Linked DNA regions of Homo sapiens: all the other regions are linked to region 2. Evidence: promoter capture Hi-C in 16 types of primary human blood cells and fetal thymus (Javierre and others, 2016). All regions are on one chromosome and are shown on one strand. Each heading gives the region's core, a stretch centred on a gene start or on the middle of the fragment in contact. The rest is flanking DNA. Distances are from core to core; before and after follow the strand shown.

The links. The method cuts DNA at HindIII sites, captures the fragments that hold promoters and counts their contacts. A CHiCAGO score of 5 or more calls a contact.
Region 1: a fragment that was not itself captured here is called in contact with the fragment with the promoter of TOR1B in region 2 in 4 of 17 cell types (megakaryocytes, activated CD4 T cells, erythroblasts and 1 more); the score reaches 6.1 in megakaryocytes.
Region 3: a contact is called between a fragment that was not itself captured here and the fragment with the promoter of TOR1B in region 2, in 1 of 17 cell types (megakaryocytes). The highest score is 6.2, in megakaryocytes.
Region 4: a contact is called between a fragment that was not itself captured here and the fragment with the promoter of TOR1B in region 2, in 8 of 17 cell types (total CD4 T cells, naive CD8 T cells, megakaryocytes and 5 more). The highest score is 7.8, in total CD4 T cells.
Region 5: a contact is called between a fragment that was not itself captured here and the fragment with the promoter of TOR1B in region 2, in 6 of 17 cell types (total CD4 T cells, total CD8 T cells, naive CD8 T cells and 3 more). The highest score is 7.4, in total CD4 T cells.

The regions. Positions count from the first base shown.
Region 1 is chr9:130,239,695-130,242,394 of GRCh38, forward strand. It overlaps MIR12126 (microRNA 12126), which reads left to right and starts at 1,693; the gene lies at 1,693-1,794. RefSeq lists enhancers at 1-154, 235-414, 936-1,230. The HindIII fragment of the contact is 900 bases long and covers 992-1,891 here.
Region 2 is chr9:129,801,877-129,804,724 of GRCh38, forward strand. TOR1B (torsin family 1 member B) reads left to right here and starts at 1,308. Exons shown (of 5, transcript NM_014506.3): 1 at 1,308-1,535; 2 at 2,197-2,462. The coding sequence starts at 1,337. RefSeq lists silencers at 1,388-1,517, 1,578-1,697. The HindIII fragment of the contact is 11,148 bases long and covers 7-2,848 here.
Region 3 is chr9:130,111,535-130,114,234 of GRCh38, forward strand. The region is part of intron 14 of GPR107 (G protein-coupled receptor 107); the gene reads left to right. Among named protein-coding and RNA genes, the nearest start is that of GPRACR, 31 kb to the right of the region's middle. The HindIII fragment of the contact is 3,979 bases long and covers 1-2,700 here.
Region 4 is chr9:130,095,161-130,097,860 of GRCh38, forward strand. The region is part of intron 9 of GPR107 (G protein-coupled receptor 107); the gene reads left to right. Among named protein-coding and RNA genes, the nearest start is that of GPR107, 43 kb to the left of the region's middle. The HindIII fragment of the contact is 8,854 bases long and covers 1-2,700 here.
Region 5 is chr9:130,077,901-130,080,600 of GRCh38, forward strand. GPR107 (G protein-coupled receptor 107) reads left to right here. Exons shown (of 18, transcript NM_020960.5): 5 at 1,730-1,869. Among named protein-coding and RNA genes, the nearest start is that of GPR107, 25 kb to the left of the region's middle. The HindIII fragment of the contact is 1,634 bases long and covers 476-2,109 here.

The DNA.
Region 1 (2,700 bases), core at 192-2,691, 440 kb after region 2:
ACTTCTAACATCCTTTGTGTGGATAAAATCTGTGGTGTAGGTTTTAATAAAAGTACATATTTAAAATGCTAATATGACACCCTCTGGAGGGCTGATTCCTGACTAGACTGTTTCACACACTTGGGGACTGTCCCTGAGGCAGAGATTGGAGGTAATTTACATACCCACACAATGTGCTGTTTCCACCGAAGCACTGAAAGTAAATCTGTGCACGGGCGCCTGTCTTTGGAAATACCAAGCTCTGGTTCAGAAGGCCGTTGTGAGGGCAGCTGGGGCAATGTTTCCAGCAGAGGGTGAGCTTGAACGGGGGTGAGCTGTTGGTGGAGGAAGCTCAGGTCTTTTCCAGCAGCCTTGGGCGTGGTGCCTACAGGGACCACGGTTCAGAAATGGTGTTGCTGAGGGCACATGATGGGTCATGGTCCCTTGCTCTGCTCGAGTCAGGCTAAAGCCTGTGCTGACTCACCCCCTGGCCCAGCCTGCGCTGGATGGCTTACTGTGGGCTGAAGCTCAGTAGAGGCACAGACCTGGCCACCTGCTTTATCAGGATGGCTCAGATTGGCTGCTATTCCCTGGGTGTGATAGCACCAGTGAGTCCTCCTAGAGGGACCATCCTAGAGGTCCCATTTCTCCCCACCTCGGGCCTTCCACCCTGTCCCCACTGACCCTGCCAAGCCCCAAACTCACATCTGCATATTAGAAAGTATCTCTCTAAATTGTACTCCCCAAAGCCCAGCTCAGGGCATCCCCAGGCATACAGAGGAGATGACAAGGAGAAGAGTAGGGAGTCGGGCTGGGAGTGGGAATGCAATGTGGATCCCTGCCCTACAGTGGCCCCCTCCTCCCTGCCATCTTCCTGCCCAGGGAGTACAGAGGCAGAAACTTACCCTCCAGGTTCATTGGTCTGGAGGAACTGGTTCAGGACAGTGGGCATGGAAAGGGGCTGGGAAGGCCCCCTGAACTTAGGCAAAATGAGCTTGTGTAGGTATGGAAAAGCTTTCTACTTCTTCCCCTTATCTCTTTTTAGCTGGGCACAGGGCCATGTGGAACAAAGGACTACATTTCCCAGCCTCCCTTGTGGCTGAGTGCGGCCATGTGACCCAGTTCTATCCAATAGGATGAGAACAATGAGCATAACTTTCCCTCTTCCCTCTTCCTGCTGACTGGATGGAGGACTCTGAAACAAGCCTTCCTAGAACTGGGTCTTTGACCCCATGGAGCTGCCACACCAGCTTTGGACCATTTACACTGGAGCTCTTAGGAGGAAGAGAGACACACATTTATCTTGATTAAGCCATCCTGAGTCTCTGTGTCAACAGCCCAATTTATATTCTCCCTAATGTACCCAGTGATCTGCTGGGTCGCTTTCAATGACCTGATGCCACCTGCAAATGTTTGCATCGAAACTCTCAATGTTTGCCAAAGTGACTTAATAAACAACCATACAGTGCCATGTGCTGGTGTAACTACTGCTTGCTCATGCCTTTCCCACCCGTCTTCTGCCTTTTCCCTCTTCCTGTCCCAATATGCCCTCCTCCTCCAAGGGCTCAGGGGACTGAGGGTCCCAGCCAGAGGGACTCCTGTGGGAAAGACTTTCTTTTGCAGAAGCACTAGGGACCTAGAGGCTCTAGGTTATTGGGGAGCCCAGGGCAGCCCCTGAGGACCGGGCCAGTTGGGTTTTCACTGGGTAACCACAGGAAGGGGACTGGGCAGGCTGGCCTAGGGTTGAGCTCAGGAAGGATTCTGCCAGGGGTTTCAAGACTTGGGGACCAGACCTTTTCTTGTCTCTACAATTTCCTTCCTCAGAAATTGCTCCCTTCCTCCCAGAAACCTAAAATAAGCCATCCACATGAGCAGATCTTGGGGATAAAAAAATATGATAAAGAGTAAAACAAGCTTTTTTCTGACAGTCAGGGAGAAGGGTGGGAAGAGTCCCTTTGGTATCATTGTCAGATGACTGAGAGTAGGTCCCGTTTTAGTCACTGGACTGTTGGTTGCCCCCAGAGGTGAGGGGAAGTCTTTGTGATATTGTGGAGTGCCCACTTTATTCTTTGAGGATTCTGAAGACCCAATTCCTATGTTGGGCATCAAGAGGCCCTTCCTGCCTTAGAAGGGGCAGATCTGTGGAATGCCAGGGGCCCGAGCTGGGACCTGCAGGGGAAGGTGCAAGTGCTGGCCTGGAAGGAGGGAGAAAGGGAGCTCCCAGGCCAGACGTGGTGGCTCACGCCTGTAATCCCAGCACTTTGGGAGGCTGAGACAGGCGGATCACTTGAAGCCAGGAGTTCGAGACCAGCCTGGTCAACATGGTGAAACTCCACCTCTACCAAAAATACAAAAATTAGCTGGGCATGGTGGCGTGTGCCTGTAATCTCAGGTAGTCGGGAGGCTGAGGCAGGAGAACCGCTTGAACCCAGGAGGTGGAGGTTGCAGTGGGCCGAGATCACACCACTGCACTCCAGCCCGGGTGACAGAACGAGACTCCATCTCAAAAAAAACAAAAAGCAAAAAACAAAGGGAGCTCCCAGTCATGGGAAGGGAATCAGAGGGAACCCTGAGGTTCGGATTCTACCCCCATGCTCGTCCATCAGATCAACTAATACAAGCTGGATGCTGCTTAAGTGATTTCTAGGCAGAAGCCTAAAGCTAACCAGAATCCTTCACCCATTTCCACAGGGATGAATGAGAGCCTGGAGTGTATATGCT
Region 2 (2,848 bases), core at 58-2,557:
AAGCAAAGCTTGAGGGCTCCGAGAAGCTCTGAAGAAAACAAATCCAGCCATAAGCCCACTCCTGTAACCCCAGGCTTTGGAAGACGGAGGCAGGTAGATCGCTTGAGGTCAGGAGTTCGAGACCAGCTTGGGCCACATGGCGAAACCCCGTCTCTACTAAAAACACAAAAGTTGGCTGGGCGTGTTGGCGGGCACCTATAATCCCAGCTACTCCAGCAGCTGAGATGGGAGAATCGCTTGAACCTGGGAGGAAGAGTTTGCAGCGAGCCGAGATCCTGCCACTGCGCTCCAGCCGGGGCGACAGAGCCAGACCCTGTCCCCAATATACATATCAGATAAGAAAAAAATATAAGAAAGTTTAAAAAAATTTTTTTTGGCTTTTTTTTGTTTTTTTTGAGACGGAGTCTCGCTCTGTCGTCCAGGCTGGAGTGCAGTGGCACGATCTCGGCTCACTGCAAGCTCCGCCTCCCAGGTTCACGCCATTCTCCTGCCTCAGCCTCCCGAGTAGCTGGGACTACAGGCGCCCGCCACCATGCCCGGCTGATTTTTTCTATTTTTCGTAGTGATGGGATTTCACTGTGTTAGCCAGGATGGTCTTGATCTCCTGACCTCGTGATCCGCCTGCCTCGGCCTCCCAAAGTGCTGGGATTACAGGCGTGAGCCGCCGCGCCCGGCCAGCCTTTTTTTTTTTTTTTGAGACAGTTTCGCTCTTGTCGCCCAGGCTGGAGTGCAGTGGCACGATCTCGGCTAACTGCAACCTCCGCCTCCTGGGTTCAAGAGATTCTCCTGCCTCAACCTCCCGAGTAGCTGGGATTACAGGCGCCCGCCACCACACCCATCTAATTTTTTGTATTTTTAGTAGAGACGGGGTTTCGCCACGTTGAGCAGGCTGGTCTCGAACTCCTGACATCAGGTGATCCGCCCGCTTCAGCTTCCCAAAGTGCTGGGATTACAGGCGTGAGCCACGGCGCCCGGCCAAAAAAAAAAAATTTTTTTTTTTTTTTTTAGATATTTTTTCACTCTTGTTGCCCAGGCTGGAGTGCAATGGCGTGATCTCGGCTCGGCCTCCCAAAGTCCTGGGATTACAGGCGTGAGCCACCGCGCCCGGCCCGAAAAAATTTTTTTAAAAGAAAAGGGAAACAAAACAGTCTCCTACACCTTCGGACCACTCCCAAGAACGATGGCACCGCCCTCCTCTCCGCCCCTCACCAACATGGCCGCCCCCAAGGGAGTGGGCGGGTCTGCGGGGCGGAAGTGACGCACGAGAGGAAGTCCGTCCTGCCGCTTGGCCGCGGGGCGCCTGGCTCAGTGGCTTCTGCGGGCTTCGAGGAGCGGGATGTTGCGGGCTGGGTGGCTCCGGGGCGCGGCGGCGCTGGCGCTGCTGCTGGCGGCCCGAGTGGTGGCGGCGTTCGAGCCCATCACCGTGGGCCTAGCCATCGGGGCCGCGTCGGCCATCACCGGCTACCTGTCCTACAATGACATCTACTGCCGCTTCGCCGAGTGCTGCCGCGAGGAGCGGCCGCTCAACGCTTCGGGTACGGCGCGCGCGCGAGCTGTGGGTCGGCGCTGCGGGGGGCGCGGGGGCGCGGGGGCGCGGAGGGACGGCCTCGTGGGCGCCTGGCACGGACCGGGCCCGTGGCATCTAGACGGCGGTGGTCCCAGCTGGGGTGGGCGGGGAGCGGATGGGGCGGCCCCGGAACCGTTCGCGGGAACGCAGAAGCGGTGCCTTCGCAAACAGTCTCCAGATCGTGGGGCTGCCCCAGCGCCTTTCTAAAGCTCCCGTTCCTTGGGATCACAGGTGGAAGAAACGGAAAGTAGGCGGGCGGCCCTTCTGCGCCCTGCCAACCCTATTAAGTAGTTTTCAGACGTGCTGCGTCGCCCAGAAAGCCCACATTTGGCCCCTGGTTTTCCTGCAGGTCAGCAAGGGTGGCTGGGATTAGCAAGCGCTCAGTCAAGCGATGGTTCATCTCTGAATGAATGAACATTTAGCTTCCTTATCAGACCCCGAAGCGTTAAGGACCTCCACATAATCTTGAAAGTGGCATCGTTTGACTGCCTCGGCCCTAGGGTGTGGCAGACACCCTGCTGTGTCCCTGGATAATCTGTGCTTCTTGCTTTGGCCAGCTAAGAAAGTGCTGCGTTGCTGATGCATTTTTAAGGTCTGTTTCTCTCTTTGTTCTGGGGCTGTTCTTGCAGCTCTCAAGCTGGATTTGGAGGAGAAGCTGTTTGGACAGCATCTAGCCACGGAAGTGATTTTCAAGGCGCTGACTGGCTTCAGGAACAACAAAAATCCCAAGAAACCACTGACCCTTTCCTTACACGGCTGGGCTGGCACAGGCAAGAATTTTGTCAGTCAAATTGTGGCTGAAAATCTTCACCCAAAAGGTCTGAAGAGTAACTTTGTCCACCTGTTTGTATCGACTCTGCACTTCCCTCATGAGCAGAAGATAAAACTGTACCAGGCAAGAGAACCCGCTATTATCTCGTCTGCAGGCCAGTCGGACTGGTCCGGGTGACCTGCTCACTAACTCTGGCCTCTGCTTCTCTTTCCTTTGTGTTGCTGTAGCCCCCGGCTCCACTGAGTTAAGGCACACTTAGTCCAGGTAGTTACAAAGCTCTCCTACAACATTTCTCTTACTTGGTTCCAAAACAGTCCAGTGGGGTAGGGGATGTTATTTCCATTAAAAGATGGGGAGCCAAGGGCCTGGCGCCGTGGCTCACGCCTGTAATCCCAGCATTTTGGGGAAGCCGAGGCGGGCGGATCATTTGAGGCCAGGAGTTTGAGACCAGCCTGGCCAACATGGTGAAACCCCATCTCTACCTAAAAGTACCAAAATTACCTGAGCAC
Region 3 (2,700 bases), core at 121-2,620, 310 kb after region 2:
ACAACAACAACAACAAAACACTATGGCAAAGAATCTCATTTTTAGTTTAGGTGCAGTCCAGGCCCAGTAACTGCAAGTGAGAGACATGCCATTTGTAGTTTTCCTTCCTGCATTGGGGTGAATACAGCTTTCCGTTTTGGGGTGAATACAGCTTTCAGTTTTGGGGTGAATACAGTTTTCAGTTTTGGGGTGAATACAGCTTTCAGAGAGTGTTTGTTTGGCTTTTACTTTGTTGTCTCTGGATTCCTTTTGACCAAACCTGAGGGAAATCTAAAGGAAAGCATTGAGGCCGAAGCTGCCCACTGTCCTTTAGCCGCGTCTTTGTCTCTCCTGTCACGCGCAGTGGCTTCTCTCAGGTCCTCGGTCACTGAGACTCACAGCTGCACTGCATCCTCCGAGAGGGAGCTTAATTGAGTCTCGCACAGACACACCTAGCGCTGGCTCCACTCTGTCTCGCCTGCTAAGATTTACTGGCTCTGACTGCCCTTGAGCCCGCATCCGCGTTCCCTTCTCTTTCTCCAGTGTCATTACCTTATAGGACTGGCGTCGAGATACACACCGTAAATTTAATTAACAGTCTCTGCTGCTCACCATCCTTTTTTTGGGCCTTGTGTTTCTGAGGAAAAGTCAGAAGATGTATTCTGAAGAGCCTTAGCTTTCATGTGAGCTTCAGAAGTATTTAAACAATCCCGGTTGGCTGGCTGCAGAGTTGATGGAGGAACGGCTTCATTCCGAGGTGCCGCCGTGCTCTGAAAGGAGCCGCGACCATGCGAGGCATTTGTTAGGGCAGCGGTTCTCAAGGGGGTCCTCGGGATCAAAACTATTTTCATAATCATACGGTGTGAGTCTCTTGTGCTGTTGACATTTGCCTGATGGTGAAAAGCAATGATGGGTGAAATTGCCGGCACCGTCACGTGATTCCAGGCTGTGGTACCAGAATCTGCCAGTAGCCACTGCATTCTTTACTGTCACCTACTCACAGGGGGTGAAAAAGGCTCATATCACTTAAGAATGGTCTTGAAATAATAAAACTGTTGATGTGATTAAATCTCAACCCTTGCCTTTTAATATTCTGTGAGACAGCATGGGAGGTGTGCACACAGCACTGCTGCTGGGCCTGAAGTGTGATGGGTGTGGCCTTGAGGGAAAGTACGTGTGCACTTGTTTGAATTGCAAGCTGAACTAGCTGCTTTTATTTTATTTTTTTGTTGTTTTTTATTTATTTATTTTTTTGAGACAGGGTCTTGCACTGTTGCCCAGGCTGGAGTCCAGTGGTGTAATCTTGGCTTACTGCAGCCTCAACCTCCTGGGCCCAACCGATCCTCTCACCTCAGCCCTCAAAGTAGCTAGGACTACAGGCGTGTGCTGCTATGCCTGGCTAATTTTTGTATTTTTTGTAGAGATAGGATTTTGTCATATTGCCCAGGCTAGTCTCAAACTCCTGAGCTCAAGTGATCCACCCACCTAGGCCTCCCAGAGTACTGAGATAACAGGCATGAGCCACTGTGCCTGGCCAAGCTGCTTTTATCTGGAAGAATGACTGTTATGGTGACACAGACATGGGTTTGTGGTGGACATTTTCTTGAAAATGAACAAAGTGAACATATTACTTCAACAAAAACAACTAATAGTATTTGTTGCCAGTGATAAAAGAAAACTTGTGTTTATCCCTGTCAGCCTGACAGTTTCCTAACTGACAGTTTCCCAGATCTTTTTTTTTTTTTTTTTTTTTCCTTGAGTCAGGCTGGAGTGCAATGGCACAATCTCAGCTCACTGCAGCCTTGACCTCCTGGGCTCAAGTGAGCCTCCCACTGCAGCCTCCTGAGTAGGTGGGACTACAGGTCTTTCCACCATGCCCGGCTAATTCTTATATTTTTTGTAGAGACGGGGTCTCAATTTGTTGCCCAAGCTGGTCTCAAACTCTGACCTCAAGTGATCCACCCACCTCGGCCTCCCAAAGTGCTGGGATTATAGGTGTGAGCCACCACACCCGGCCAGTTTCCCAGTTCTTATAAGACTTATGATGTAAGCAGAGGTGATACTAACAATGTGATTTTTTTAAGAATTCTATAATAAAATGTTTCTGTATCTGGGAGATCTACATAACACACTGAAACATTGTCTTCCACCTGGCCAGTGCAGGATGTTCCATAGTCATGCATGGGGGTAAAAGCTCTCCTGAAAGTGCAGGATGGACCAGTGGAGTTTATTAATGTAAGAGTGTGGAAAGTTCATTGATAAATTTCAGATTCCCCACCTCCCTCATCTTTAGAAGCAACCTCTTGTCAGGTTTTAATGTAGAATCACAGACTATTCACAGTAATCTGAAAAGGCCTACATCTATCTGTATGGGGCCAGATTTTCTTCATATATTTTCACCAAATACTCCCTCACAGCAAGTTGAATGCTGATTGAATCAAATATGAGAACCCAGCTGCATGTTATTAAGCTAGACATTAAAGAGAATTACAAAAATAATTCTGGTCTTCTCATTCTTTTTTTTTTTTTTTTTTTTCATTTTTTTTTTTTAGAAAAGAGGTTTTTTATTTTGGGGCCAGGCACAGTGGCTTATGCCTGTAATCCCAGCACTTTGGGAGGCGGAGGCAAACGGATCAGTTGAGGTCAGGAGTTCGAGACCAGCCTGGCCAACATGGTAAAACCCTGTCTCTACTAAAAATACAAAAATTAGCTGAGCGTGGT
Region 4 (2,700 bases), core at 176-2,675, 290 kb after region 2:
AGTAATAGTTACTCTGCCTTCCTGTAAGAGTCTTGGATTCTTAGACATGTTGTGTGATTCTCCCTAAGATAATGTGTATGAGAGGGCTTTGCAAATCAGGGCGCAATCCAAACATGAGGTGTTTATAAAATAGTTTAGTAGCCAGGGGTTCAGTGGTGTTTTAATTTTCCTTTAGTTATTGGTGGCAATAGTCATTGTCACTGGTTCACTTGTATCAAATTGTGGTAACAGTTTTCTTTATTTTATTTTTTTTGAGACAGAGTCTCGCTCTGTCGCCAGGCTGGAGTGCAGTGGTGCAATCTTGGCTCACTGCAACCTCTGCCTTCTGGGTTTGAGTGATTCTTCTGCCTCAGCCTCCCAAGTAGCTGGGACTACAGGCGTCCGCCACCATGCCTGGCTTATTTTTGTATTTTTAGTAGAGACGGGGTTTCACCATGTTGGCTGGGATGGTCTTGATCTCTTTACTTCGTGATCCACCTGCCTTGGCCTCCCATTGTGCTGGGATTACCAGCATGAGCCAGTGCACCCAGACCGTGATAACACAGTTTTCAATCTGTGGTTAAATGAGGCTGACCTATTGTGTACAAGTCTCATCTGTAATTTTTGTTGGAGTATAGTGTGCATGGGGGAAGGTCAGTTAAGTCCTGCCCATGTTTTCCCGGGAGTCTTAGAGTCAGTTCTGGTAGGCTGGAAACCCACATGATATAAAGGCATATGACCAAGGCCGCCAGGCGCATTTCACTGGCCCCTGAAAGCTGGAAACGACTAAGAGATCTTTGCCTCATTTATTGAGGCCCAGAGAGGGGAAACGAGAGCCAGTGTCACCCAACAGACCTGGGACTGGAACTCGGGTCTGCTTGCTAGTATGTATCAGGCCCCTCCCAACTTCAAGTGTAGGTAGAACTAGTATTTGAGCCGAGGTCAGTGAGTATTCTTTCCATCACATCTCTGCCCCATCGTAGATATTCTAACCATGGACTGCAAGTCAAGGTTGCCAGAGTGTGAATGAGCACAGCTCTTTGTGGTGGGTGGTTTTACACTCTGGGTAAATCTCATTGGCATTCAGTAGTTCCAGGCTATTCTGGCCTTGACTTCCCTTTTGACCTTCAAGTAGGTGGGCACTGGAACAGGAAAGTACCAGGGAGGAAATGAGCCCAGAAACTGATATCCCTTTGTGGTACACTCTCATTCTCACTTGGTGCCAGGCCCCTCTCCTGCTCTATTGTTCCCCTTCATTTCCTGTCCCCTCTCCCACTCCTTCCCAGTAGTGGAGAACTGCTCAAATGTGTTGCATATACATTTTTGGACTTTTTTTTTTTTTTTTTTGAGACCTCGTCTCACTCTGTGCCCCAGGCTGGAGTGCAGTGGTGCAATCTCAGCTCACTGCAACCTCCGCCTCCCGGGTCAAGCAATTCTCGTGCTTCAGCCTCCCGAGTAGCTGGGACTACAGGCGCCTGCCACCATGCCCGGCTAATTTTTGTATTTTTCGTAGAGACGGGGTTTCACTACGTTGGCCAGGCTGGTCTAGAATTCCTGACCTCAGGTGATCGGCCTCCCAAAGTGCTGGGATTACAGGCGTGAGCCACTGCGTCTGGCCTGATTTTTGGATATTTCTATATTCTTATAGATAAGTACTGTTTACTGGTGTTGCATTTATTTTAAGTTTACATAAAATATCTATAGACGTTGTTGTACATTTTTTACTCAGTATTATCCTTTCTGCGATCTAGCCATGTGGCTGAGTGTGCATCTCATTCATTGATTTTTACCTACTCCACAGCATCCCATGCTCTGTGTCCTCACGTTTGACTGCTTTGGTCCTTTAGTGATAGACACACGCCTGGACTGCCTACATCTCCCTGCTACCTCAGCCAGTGCTGGCATGTACCTCCAAAGATCCCCTGTGGATCTGTGCAGCCTCCGAGCTGCAGTCCCAGAAGGAAGCACACTGTGCCATGGGTAGTTAATTTCTTTTCTTTACTTTTCTTTTTTTTCTTTTTTTTTTTTTTTTTGAGACAGAGTCTCACTCTGTCACCCAAGCTGGAGTGCAGTGGCACCATCTTGGCTCATTGCAACCTCCACCTCCTGAGTGCAAGCGATTCTCCTGCCTCACCCTCCTGAGTAGCTGGGACTATAGGCATGTACGCCCATGCCGGGCTAATTTTTGTATTTTTAGTAGAGACGGGTTTTCACTGTGTTGGCCAAGCAGGTCTTGAACTCCTGGCCTCAAGAGATCCTCCCGCCTCGGCCTCCCAAAGTGCTGGGACTACAGGCATGAGCCACTGCGCCCAGCCATCAGTTAATTTCGTTAAGGGCCAGATTGCCTTCCAGTGTGGCATATAGGTTTATACGTCTACCAGTGGTGCATACATAATAAGGTTTGCTGTTTCTCCACATTCTTACCAATACTGACATCTTAATTTTTGCCAATCTGATAGGTGTAAAGTGGTATCTTGCTTTATTTTGCGTTTCTCTGAATATTGGTGATGTGGATTATCATTTTAGAGACTTAACCATTTCCCCTCTTGTGGCTGCCTGTATTCTTTGGGTTTTTTTTTTTTTTTTTGAGACAGGGTCTCACTAAGTTGTCCAGGCTGGAGCAGTGGCGTAATCAAGGCTTACAGCAGCCTCAAACTCCTGAGCTCAAGTGATCCTCCCACCTCAGCCTCCCGAATAGCTGAAACTATAGGGACGCACCAC
Region 5 (2,700 bases), core at 43-2,542, 280 kb after region 2:
CATGCCTGTAATCCCAGCCCTTTGGGAGGCCGAGGCGGACGGATCACGAGGTCAGGAGATTGAGACCATCCTGGCTAAAACAGTGAAACCCCGTCTCTACTAAAAATACAAAAAATTAGCCGGGCGTGGTGGTGGGCGCCTGTAGTCCCAGCTATTCGGGAGGCTGAGACAGGAGAATGGTGTGAACCCAGGAGGCGGAGCTTGCGGTGAGCCGAGATCGCGCCACTGCACTCCAGCCTGGGTGAGAGAGTGAGACTCCGTCTCAAAAAAAAAAAAAAAATGTTGAACTTTGATGAATTATCAGACTTTGTGTTTTCAAGTTCAGCATACTTCCAACTGCGTACTTTGTAATTGCTGAGGGAGCCTTTAAGGTAGGAATCATGTGCTCAGACTTGCCTGTAAGGTAGACTCCTAGCAGCCCAGAAGAGGATGGATTTGAGATGAACAAGACTGGAGGTAAGAAGACTAATGAATAAGCTTCTAAAAAAAAAATGCTTTGTCATAAAACCATTGTAGACCCTAACTTTTAAAATATTCTCCGTGATAACCTCTGTTTTCATTTAAGAAGATTGATCTGACAGTCTCCTGTATTGGTCAGTCTACTTTTGGAAGCAAGCAACAAAAGACTTGACTTAGACTCTGGCGTGAATAGTGAAGACATTGATTACCTCACCTATGTGCAGTGGGGCAGGCGAGAGACAGGCCTGCGGTGGCTTGCTGATGTTAGGGACTCTGGTGCATTTCATCTTTCTGCTCTGCCATCCTGAGTGTTAGCTTCTTCCTCAGGCAGGTTTCCCAGCCATCACAAGGTGGCTCTGCTCCATCATTCATATCCAGCCAAGGGACAGAGAGCAGGCTCCTCCTCCAGGTAGAATGAGAAGTGCTTGAATGTGCCAGCTTAGGTTGGGCATCCACTCAGTCATGGGAACTGTCACTGGCCCCTCCTGGGTGGGATGGGGTAAACAAAATTGGGTCTCATGAGAAGGGGGAAGGGTGGAAATGGATATTAGGAGGCAACTAACAGTGCCACTGCCCTCTCGTGCTTCCCTGGATTTCACTTGCTTTCTTTATTTTTTGAGACGGGGTCTCGCTCTGTGGCCCAGGCTGGAGTGCAGTGGCACGATCTTGGCTCATTGCATCCTCCACCTCCCAGGTTCAAGCGATTCTCCTGCCTTAGCCTCCCAAGTAGCTGGGATTACAGGTGCATGCCAACACACCCGGCCAGTTTTTTTTTGTAATTTTAGTAGAGACAGGGTTTTGCCATGTTGGCCAGGCTGTTCCTGAATTCCTGACCTCAAGTGATCCACCCGCCTCAGCCTCCCAAAGTGCTGAGATTACAGGCGTGAGCCACCATGCCTGGCCTGGATTTCACTTTAAAGTCTTACTGATGTTTTACATTTTGTCCGTTTCTCTTGTGCACCAATTTGCTGAGCATTTTAACGATACTTAAGGAGAAAGATGTACCTCAGAATTGTGTGGTTACTAAGATCTTAGGCTTAAGAGAGACTACCTGGATCCTCGTCCAACTACTTCCTAGCTTGGTGCCCTTGGGCAAGTTATTTAACGTTTCTGAGCCTCAGTTTTGGTATCTGTAGAATGTGGATAATAGAATCTACATTGTAGAACATGATAAGGACTGCATGAGCTTGGCACAGGGCCTACACGCAGCGTGCTCAGTGGCCAGGAGCACTGCTTTGACCTTTTTTCCTTCTGTCTTATTTGAATGTAGGGTAAGAGTAAAGTCTCCACCAGAAGCTGGTACCCAGTTACCAAAGATCATCTTCAGCAGGGATGAGAAAGTCCTTGGTCAGAGCCAGGAGCCTAATGTTAACCCTGCTTCAGCAGGCAACCAGACCCAGAAGACACAAGGTAAACCGTAAGGTGGAAACTGGCTTTCAGTTTTCACTACCTGCTTTGTAGCTTTTTTGTTCCTAATTAAAAGTAAAAGTAAAACATGATCTGTTGTCGTCTTAGCATTATATTTTGGAAGTTACACAAAAATACGTAAATGTTAAAGAAAAATGTGGAAAATCTGAAGCAGATGGAAAAACAACAGTCATTTCTCCTTATTCCCAGTGTTAGAATTTTAGTAATTTATGTTTTCTTATAAGCTTGTTTCATAAGTCTAGAACATTTGATTTTTAAAATTCAGTCATGCTTATAATTTTATATACATGCCTGATTACTTTTTAGCCCATTTCATACCTATCATATATCCTGTTAAGCAGATACTGTAATTTGCTCAACCTTTCCCCTTAAGGAGACACATTTCCATTTTTGTGTGATTATGAATATTGCTGCAGTGGACTTCTTTATGCATAGAACTGTCTTCGTATAGCGAACGTTCTTTAAGATGGTTTTCAGAATTGCAATTTCTGGTTCAAAGGATATGAATGCATTTGAGAATATTGATGTATATTTTTAAATTCCTTTCCAAATGAGTTGTGTGGATTTATATTCTTATCAGAAATATGTAGGAATAGTGGGCACATTATCATGTCCTAGCCAATATGGGGTATTTTCTTTTCAAAAAACAAAATCCTAAAATGAAAGGCAAAAAAGGTATTCCTGTTTATTTATTTATTTATTTATTTATTTATTTATTTTTTGAGACGGAGTCTCGCTCTGTCGCCCAGGCTGGAGTACAGTGGCGCAATCTCGGCTCACTGCAAGCTCCGCCTCCCGGGTTCACGCCATTCT